Linked DNA regions of Homo sapiens: region 2 is linked to region 1. The links are contacts of gene promoters, found by promoter capture Hi-C in blood cells and fetal thymus (Javierre and others, 2016). All regions are on one chromosome and are shown on one strand. Each heading gives the region's core, a stretch centred on a gene start or on the middle of the fragment in contact. The rest is flanking DNA. Distances are from core to core; before and after follow the strand shown.

Region 1 (4,269 bases), core at 37-2,536:
ATGGGATGCTTGGAAATAAAGCAGCTTCACCCAGGGGCAGTTTATGTTTTTCTAACTAACTTGGGGTGGGGATGGAATGAAAGGTGGTTGAATAGGGCAGTGACTAAGCAGAGGAGGATGGAGAGATGGGCGGATATCAGGGAATTCCGCCCAGTGACCTGGCTCCTGAACACCTACGAAGTCAACCTTGTGACATTCAGCCCATCCCAGTGTAACCCTTACCCATCCACTCCTGTCCTGTTGGGCCATTGTGTTTAATCCTGAAATCCCACCTCTTCTAAGAAGTCTTCTCAGATTAGTTGTGGCAGAGTGAAAAGTGTAAAGGATTAGGGGTTAGAAGACCTCAGTTCAAGCATAGCCACTTCCTAGTTCTGTGACCTCGGGGGCATGTAACCTCACATCTCTGTGGCACAGTTGCCTCATCTTCAAAAAGGGAATAACAGAATCCACCTAATAGGATGTCTATGAAGATTAAAGAATTACAGTATGAAAAATGCTTAGAACTGTGGGTGGTACGTAAGAAGTAATGAACAACTGATAGCTATTACTGCTGAAGATGGAAGATTTAAGGGCTATGTTCCCCTTTCATACCCATCCACTTATATTTCCCTCGGCCCCCACCCACAAGTGTATTTTCCCTTCCATTTATCTGATGGGTCCTCTCCATGTCTTTTGCTGGCTACCAACCATTGGTGTTTCCCAAGCTTCTCTTTGTGCCTTTTTTTACTCTCTATGTGGTCCTCCTAGGAGAATCTCATCTTCTTACTTCTTCCATGACTTCAAGAACAGGCTGAGGATTCTAAAATATTATCTCTAGCCTCCAAGGCACCCCACCTCCTGTCCCTCTTCCTTGGACTTCCTGTCACAATTACTTCACACTCAGTACATTCCACAAGCATGGGATCTTCTGTCCTAAGACTACGCTTCCTCCTGTGTACCTTACCTCAGTTAACCTGACAGTCATCTACCTGCCATCTGAAGCAGAAATCTGAACTACCATCCAAGACTCCTCTCTCTCTCACCCACCAAGTCTAATTGATCACCAAGTCATTCAACTCCAGCTCATTATCACTCCATCCCTCCCTCTCCATCATCCCTGCCCTGAACTAATTCAGGTCTTTATTACCTCCTGCTTAAAATGGTACAAGAGCAGCCTAATTAGTCTTCTCTTCCATTCATCCACGTGGATGTCAAAGTTACCTGTCTAAAACAAAAAAAACGATCATATCATTCCCTGCCTTAAAACCCTTTTATAACTCCCCACTGCCTGAAAGAGAAAGTTCAATCTTTTTACTATGGCAAACAAGATCCTTCATGATAAGGCCCTGCCTTTTTCTTCAAGCTCATGGCCCACCATCCTCCTTCCCATGCTCCATGCTCCAGAAGTACTGAGCAACCTCCAGTCCTCTCACACACCACATGCTATCCCACTCCACCACATTTGGAATATGCTGTTCCTTTGGCCTGAAATACCTTCTTTCCTACCTCTACTCACCCTTGAAGAGCTAACACATTTAACTCCTCAACGGAGCCTTTCCTCACTCCTCAGTGATCACTCCGACCTCAGACCTTCTGTACACTTGGTAAATACTTCAGCTACTCTCACACACACTGAAATTAATGTTGTACACGCTTAAGTTCCTTACAAGACAAAGCCCATGTCTTTCTCATCCACTTATGTCCAGATTCTAAAACAATGTTTGGCAAATAGTAAGCATCAATAAACGTTACTGAGTGAAGGAATGAACATACACTTTCTAGTCCAGCTTTGTGTCTGTTTCCTGTTCATAGTCAGCTGGTACAACTGTACAGTATTTTACAGTTTCCAAACATTTTCACTGTGTCATTAAATTCATGTGTTTGGCCAGGAAAGCTTGCTCACGCCTGTAATCCCAGCACTTTGGGAGGCCAAGGTGGGTGGATCACCTGAGGTCAGGAGTTCGAGACCAGCCTGACCAACATAGTGAAACCCTGTCTTCACTAAAAATACAAAATTAGCTGGGCATGCTGGCAGGTGCCTGTAATCCCAGCTACTCGGTAAGCTGAGGCAGGAGAATCACTTGAACCCGGGAGGTGGAGGTTGCAGTGAGTTGAGATCTCACCACTGCATTCCAGCCTGGGCAACAAGAGCGAAACTCCATCTCAAAAACAATAATAATAAAATAAATAAATAAATTCATGTGTTCATGTACTTACTGCATATCAATTCTGCTGGAGACCACTGGAGTTACACCATCAGTAATGGGAGGGGGTGGGGCTACTCTGGAAAGGATGATCAGGGAAGGTCTTCAAGCTAAAAGCTAAAAGGATCTAAAGGATAGATGTGGGTAGAGAAAGAGAACAGACTTGAAACAAAAGCAAGAAAGCCAGTATGGCTGAAGCAGAGTAAGGTAAAGTGATTTATTCAACCGGAGCTTCTTAACCCATGAGATAGGACAGATAATCCCCAAATTCAAATGTTACAGGATTTTCCCAACTGATGAAGGAAGCTAGTAACAAAACCCAGCCTCATCATTACAAGCTAGGCTTTTCCCAAATCATCAGCTGTCTATGACATTTACAGATACAGACAGGCACTGTCCAATACAGTATCCATTTAGCCATACAAGCACCTGAAACGTGGATATTCCAAACTGCTATGTGTTGTAAATGTAAAATACACACCAATTTCAGACCTATTATGAAAAAGGAGTATAAAATATCTCATTGAGGCCGGGCGTGGTGACTCACACCTTAATCCCAGCACTATGGGAGGCCAAGCGGGGCAGATCACTTGAGGTCAGCAGTTCGAGACCAGCCTGGCCAAGATGGTGAAACCCCTCTATACTAAAAAACAAAAATTAACCGGGTGTGGTGGCGTGTGCCTGTAATCCCAGCTACTCGGGAGGCTGAGGCAGGAGAACTGCTTGAACCCCGGAGGAGGAGGTTGCAGTGAGCCAAGATCACGCCACTGTGCTCCAGCCTGGGCAATAAAGTGAGACTCCATCTCAGAAAAAAAAAAAAAATCTCATTGATAATTTTCATCTCAGCTTTGAATATTTGGGGTAATCAGATTAAATAAAATATATTATTACAATTAACGTCACCTCGTTTCCTTATCTTACCAGAAAGATTTTAAATTACATATGTGGTTTCTATTGGACAGCAGCGGCACACACCCTCTCAGTATGTTTTTCTTTATTATGAGCTCCCCAAGGGCCAGTTTATTGAAAATTCTGCACAATGATTGCTGAGGTTTGCACCTCCCCTCCTCTCATTCCAGTTTTAACCCTAGCTCTGAAATTCGTGTTTTGCTTAACTTCTTTGAGTTTCAGGGGCTTTTCATGCTTCCAGTAGGAATGACAGCCACTTCGTGGCTCTTTTAGGAGCATTAAGTAAACTTTATCGGGCAACACTGACAGCCCCGTCATAGTCACCGCGACGGCCAGCTCACCCGGTAGCTCTCGAAGGCCTCGTCGATGGGTGCCATGGCGTGAGTCTGGTGCTCCTGGGACTCCCTGCACACCAGGCACACTGGCCGCTGGTCGTCCTCGCAGAAGAGCCGCAGCGGCTCCCAGTGGCGGCCGCACAGGCCCGGGGGCACGGGGCCCAGGCGCCGGCGCTGCGTCTTCTCAGTCAGCCTGGCCAGGGCCCAGTTGGGTCGCAGCGCGGCGGGCGCCGATGGGTGCCGACATTCGGGGCAGGGGAACGGGCCGCCGCCCGGCGCCCAGTTGCGGTGCAGGCAGCCGCGGCAGAAGTTGTGGCCGCACTCGATGGACACCGGGTCCTGGAAATAGTCCAGGCAGATGGGGCAGGTCAACTCCTCCTGGATGTCCTCAGCTTCCATGCTGCTTCCCTGCCGCGGAGACGGAGTCCGACGTGAGGCGCGGGAGAGGCCAGCAAGCTGCGAGCGGCCGCGGGGAGGCCAGACGACTTCCGAACCGCCGTCACCGCCTCACGTAAAAGGGTACAACGCAGTTTCTCTTCCGGGGTTCAGGACCCAAAAAGAACGCACGGACGTTGCCCGGCCTGAGCGCGCAAGACCGGAAGCTGCTGGGTATCCGCGCCGGAACCGCGAGGGGGTTGGTTCAGGCCTAGGCGCGGGGCAGGACGGGACCGGTGAGTGGCTCCTCCAAACAGCTATAGAGACCCAGAAATGCCTGTGGAAAGCTACAGAGGACTTGGGCAAGGCGTTAGAGCCGGACGTTGTGGTCCCTGGGGGAGCCAACCGGGGAGGTGCCTATGATCTTTCTTTCCAAGTTTGAGGGTTCAGGTCTGTGTTCGCCTGCT
Region 2 (4,259 bases), core at 756-3,255, 180 kb after region 1:
TTTATTTACCACCTAAAGGAGAAGAACAAAAAAAAAAAAAAAAAAGAGCAACAGGATGGGGAAAGGAGAGCACAGAGAACACCAGGCAGAAGTGCCCCTCCTTTCTGCCTGCTCAGAAAACATCAGTATCTGAGCAGCCTCTCTACAGAAGCTTAAACGCCTCGCCCTTTGTTTGCCATTGTTCTCTAACCACTCACTTCCCTCTCCTTGTACTGAGGCAGCAGCTCTTGTACGGCATCAGCAAAGAGCTTCGCGTAGCGCCTGGCATTCTCACAAATTGAGTCCACCAACTCGGGGTCATCCTCGGCTACGTCGTCCAGGTCCACATACAGAGCCACCTGTTCCCGATGAGCCAGCCGAACCTCAAGTGGGGAAGAGACAGAAACACCTCAGAGCCACATTCACTTTGCTCACCAGTGTTCATATGTGAAAATGCATCACTGAGAACTCAGCACAGGCTCTGGGCATCCACAGGGGAGAACGCAGCGCCACACAGAGCGATACTCGCTTTTCAGCCCTCAAACCCTCTAATTGTTATGTCTTTAATAAAACAAGCCAAGCTGCTGCTTATGGCTCCTTAAGCACCCCGCTCCCCATTCCCTTTACCCAATCTTAGACTTACCAACTGGTTCCCATACTTGAACTGCTTCTTCCCGAGTTCATCATCCTGGTAGAACTCTTGTAAGAACTTCTTAACCTTTTCTGTAACATGAAATGTAAAACCGTAAGACACAAACTTTAAGACAAATCTTAGATACCCATTTTCGCTTAAAACACGACCTATGAACTAATTAATAATATGAGCATTTAAATAAACCTACCGAAGTCTCCCCAAAGTGGGCATAACTCTTTTTCACAAGTCTGTTTCTAACCAGCGAAGAATAAAGAGCCCGTGGCAGTGCACAGGGCCATCCAACATCTCCCCAGGGGAATTCCGGTCCCTACTTTAGTTTAAAATTCTAGCGCCCTTCCCCGTTGGCCCCTCACACTCCGGTCTCAAGGTTCTCAGCTTTCTTTCCACCCCTATGATCCCCCGCCTTCTTTGGGTCCCCTTAGCCCCTGATTTCACCGGGACCTCCGCCACCGCACCCCGCCACCGCACCCCACCCCCGCTCCCGCCATCGCTTCCGCTCTTAGTAAACAAAGAAGCACATGGGCCCGGATTCCAGCCGCTTCACAGCTCGGGATTCCTCCGCCCAGGGCGGGAGCCAGTCCAGCCATTGGCCATCACACCCAGAGACACCGCGATCCCAGCCCACTGCCGCCTTTCCCGGGCCCGAGCGAAGCTCCGGATCCCAGGCACGCCCCCCCGGGCCGCAGCTCTCTCCGCGGCCGCCGCGCGGAAGGACACTGTTTACACGACACTCCCTCCAGCCTCCTCGCGCCACTTCCGCCCGGCTCCACTTCCGCTCGGAGGGCGGCCTCAAACGGCCAATCCCGGCGCGCAGCGGCCCCGGCCTGCCCGCCCCCGGGGCCTACGCGCGCCTGGGGAGGGCGCGGGAACCTGGGAATGCCCAAAAGCGCGAAGGAAAGCGGGCACGGGAGCCCAGAGCCCTTAAGACTCTCCTGAGGTCCTGGGCGCGACTTTTCCCTGTGCAGCCCCCAGCCGGGTTAGCGCGCCCCCAAGCCCCCAACCCCACGACCCTAACACCTTTACCAGGTGGGATTACTAGCTTTTCTTCAACATCGATGGCCCCCCGCACGCTTCCCAGGCCCCGTGGGCCTTAGCCAGGCCGCAGCTCGACCCTGCCTCTGGCCTCGCGCACCCCAGAACCCGCCGACCCCGGTCCCCCAAGACCCCAGCTCACACCAACAGGTGTTCCCCGGGAGGCTCCCCGCGCAGGACGCCCTCCCGGGCTCGTAGACCCGTACCCTTCTCTAGCGCGTAGTCCTTCAGTGCCATCGCTGCCGAGGGCCGTGCGGCCGCGCTTGGCGGGCTCAGAGGTCTTGCTCCTGGGGAAGCTGAGAATCTCCGCGCGGTGGACTGTGGCCGGCCAACCGAAATTGGCGCGAAACGTCGCCCCCCACGTGACCGGCGCCACTGCGTGCGGGCCAATCGGACAAGGCGGCCTTCTTCACCTCCCGCTAGCCGCAAGCCAATCACCGTGCGGGCCTAGAATGAGTGACGGGGAGGCGGTGCGGGCGTCGGAAGGGAATCTCCGGGCGGGGTAGTGCAGGCGCCGGGTTTCCCGCGGTCCGAGCTGGCGCGGGCGGAGGAGAATCGCTCTTAAAGGGCCAGCGCACACGCGTTCTTTTGTTCCGGGGCCGCAGGGCGGGGCAGGCCCGACTTTCGCCGTCTTCTTGTCTACTCTCCAGAACGGCCATGATTTCCCAATTCTTCATTCTGTCCTCCAAGGGGGACCCGCTCATCTACAAAGACTGTATCCTAGACCCTTGGGGCTGGGAAGGGGCGGAGGGGCCGGGCGGGAGGGGCGCCCAGGGCCAGCCTGTGTCGCAGGATCCTTCACTGAGTCCTTCCACCCGCCAGTCCGCGGGGACAGTGGCGGCCGGGATGTGGCCGAGCTCTTCTACCGGAAGCTGACGGGACTGCCAGGAGACGAGTCCCCGGTTGTCATGGTAACCAGTGGCGGGAGGCGGGTGAGGAGCGGGGTCCCGTCGGGCCGGGTGGGCGCCAGCTCCCTCCCAGGACTGGTTCATTGGTAGATTCCACTTGGGGGGTGCATTCCGCCAAATAAAGCTAACGTGAGGCCCGGCGCGGTGGCTCACGCCTGTAATCCCAGCACTTTGGGAGACCGAGGCGGGCGGATCACCTGAGGTCAGGAGTTCGAAATCAGCCTGGCCAACATGGTGAAACTCCGCCTCTACTAAAAATACAAAAAAAAAAAAAACATAGCTGGGCGTGGTGGCGGGCGCCTGTAATCCCATCTACTCGGGAAGCTGAGGCTTGAGAATCGCTTGAATCCAAGAGGCAGAGGTTGCAGTGAGCCGAGATCCGGACACCGCACTCCAGCCTGGGAGACAGAGCGAGACTCCCTCTCGGGGTAGGTGGGGGTGGGGAAAAAAAAAAAAAGAGTCAATGGGCGCCAGCAACACACCAGGCCCAGCTCCCTGCGTGACTCCATCCTCAGCAACTCGGGGTAGTTAGTGTAATTAACCCCCTTTCCACATTGGGAAGCTGGGCCCAGGCATATGTCATGTATCTCCCAAAGGCACTGCTGTTGTGACTAGTAAGAGGCATCGGGATCCGAGCTCAGGTCTCCTGGGTTCTGATCACTCCACCTCCCTTTTTTTAACGCCTCTCTTCTCCCTGCCTGTGTCTCAGCATCACCATGGCCGTCATTTCATTCACATCAGACACAGCGGCCTCTATTTGGTGGTCACAACTTCAGAAAACGTTTCTCCCTTCAGCCTCCTAGAACTGCTCTCCAGGTGAGGAGGGTTGGGCTGGGCACCTGGTAGCTAGGAGGGGTCTGAGAGGAGGAGAAAATACACGCTCCAAGTGTTTCCTCAGGTTGGCCACCCTTCTGGGCGATTACTGTGGCTCCCTGGGCGAGGGGACCATCTCCCGCAATGTGGCTCTGGTATACGAACTCCTGGATGAAGTGCTGGTGAGAATCAACAATCCCCTTCTGTGGCCCCTACCCAATTCCCCTGAAGATACATCTGCTCTTCTACTGTGGGATGCCGTGGTTAGGAGGCCAAGTCTACCTTTTTTTTTTTTTTTTTTTTTGCTTTTAGAGACAGGGTCTTGCTCTGTTGCCCAGGCTGGACTGCAGTGGTGCAGTTATAGCTCACTGCAGCCTGGAACTCCTGGGCTCAAGCCGTCCTCCTGCCCCAGCCTCCCCTGTGCCTAGCTAATTGTTTATTTTTTGTAGAGACTAGAGTCTCACTGTGTTGCCCAGGCTGGTCTTGAACTCATGGCCTCAAGCCATTCTCCTACGTCTCGGCCTTCCAAAGCGCTGAGAGTACAGGAGTGAGTCACCATGCCTGGCCCCACTCCCCCTCTTTACCCCTTCCCTCCACTGATCACTCAGACTGTCCTTCCTTTACCACTAGGACTATGGCTATGTACAGACCACATCCACGGAGATGCTGAGGAATTTCATCCAGACGGAAGCTGTGGTCAGCAAGCCCTTCAGCCTCTTTGACCTCAGCAGCGTTGGCTTGGTCAGTAGAGGGAAAGAGGAGGGTGAGGAAAGAGAAGAGGGGTTGGCTGGGGTTGTCAGACCTGATGATTGATTGCTTTGGATGCTTTACAGTTTGGGGCTGAGACACAACAGAGCAAAGTGGCCCCCAGC

Evidence for each region. The method cuts DNA at HindIII sites, captures the fragments that hold promoters and counts their contacts. A CHiCAGO score of 5 or more calls a contact.
Region 2: a contact is called between the fragment with the promoter of MCM7 here and a fragment that was not itself captured in region 1, in 7 of 17 cell types (naive CD8 T cells, naive CD4 T cells, total CD4 T cells and 4 more). The highest score is 9.8, in naive CD8 T cells.

Annotation. Positions count from the first base shown.
Region 1 is chr7:99,915,576-99,919,844 of GRCh38, forward strand. TRIM4 (tripartite motif containing 4) reads right to left here and starts at 3,955. Exons shown (of 6, transcript NM_033091.3): 1 at 3,434-3,955. The coding sequence starts at 3,826. It overlaps LOC101927610 (a long non-coding RNA gene), which reads left to right and starts at 4,028. Exons shown (of 2, transcript XR_001745296.3): 1 at 4,028-4,252. RefSeq lists a silencer at 3,527-3,686 and enhancers at 3,817-3,866, 3,897-3,976, 4,217-4,269. The HindIII fragment of the contact is 1,169 bases long and covers 703-1,871 here.
Region 2 is chr7:100,099,392-100,103,650 of GRCh38, forward strand. MCM7 (minichromosome maintenance complex component 7) reads right to left here and starts at 2,006. Exons shown (of 15, transcript NM_005916.5): 1 at 1,873-2,006; 2 at 623-702; 3 at 198-362; 4 at 1-12. The coding sequence starts at 1,903. AP4M1 (adaptor related protein complex 4 subunit mu 1) reads left to right here and starts at 2,252. Exons shown (of 15, transcript NM_004722.4): 1 at 2,252-2,381; 2 at 2,489-2,577; 3 at 3,284-3,390; 4 at 3,473-3,569; 5 at 4,018-4,128; 6 at 4,221-4,259. The coding sequence starts at 2,324. RefSeq lists enhancers at 1,201-1,360, 1,706-2,258, 2,281-2,330 and a silencer at 1,471-1,570. The HindIII fragment of the contact is 6,263 bases long and covers 150-4,259 here.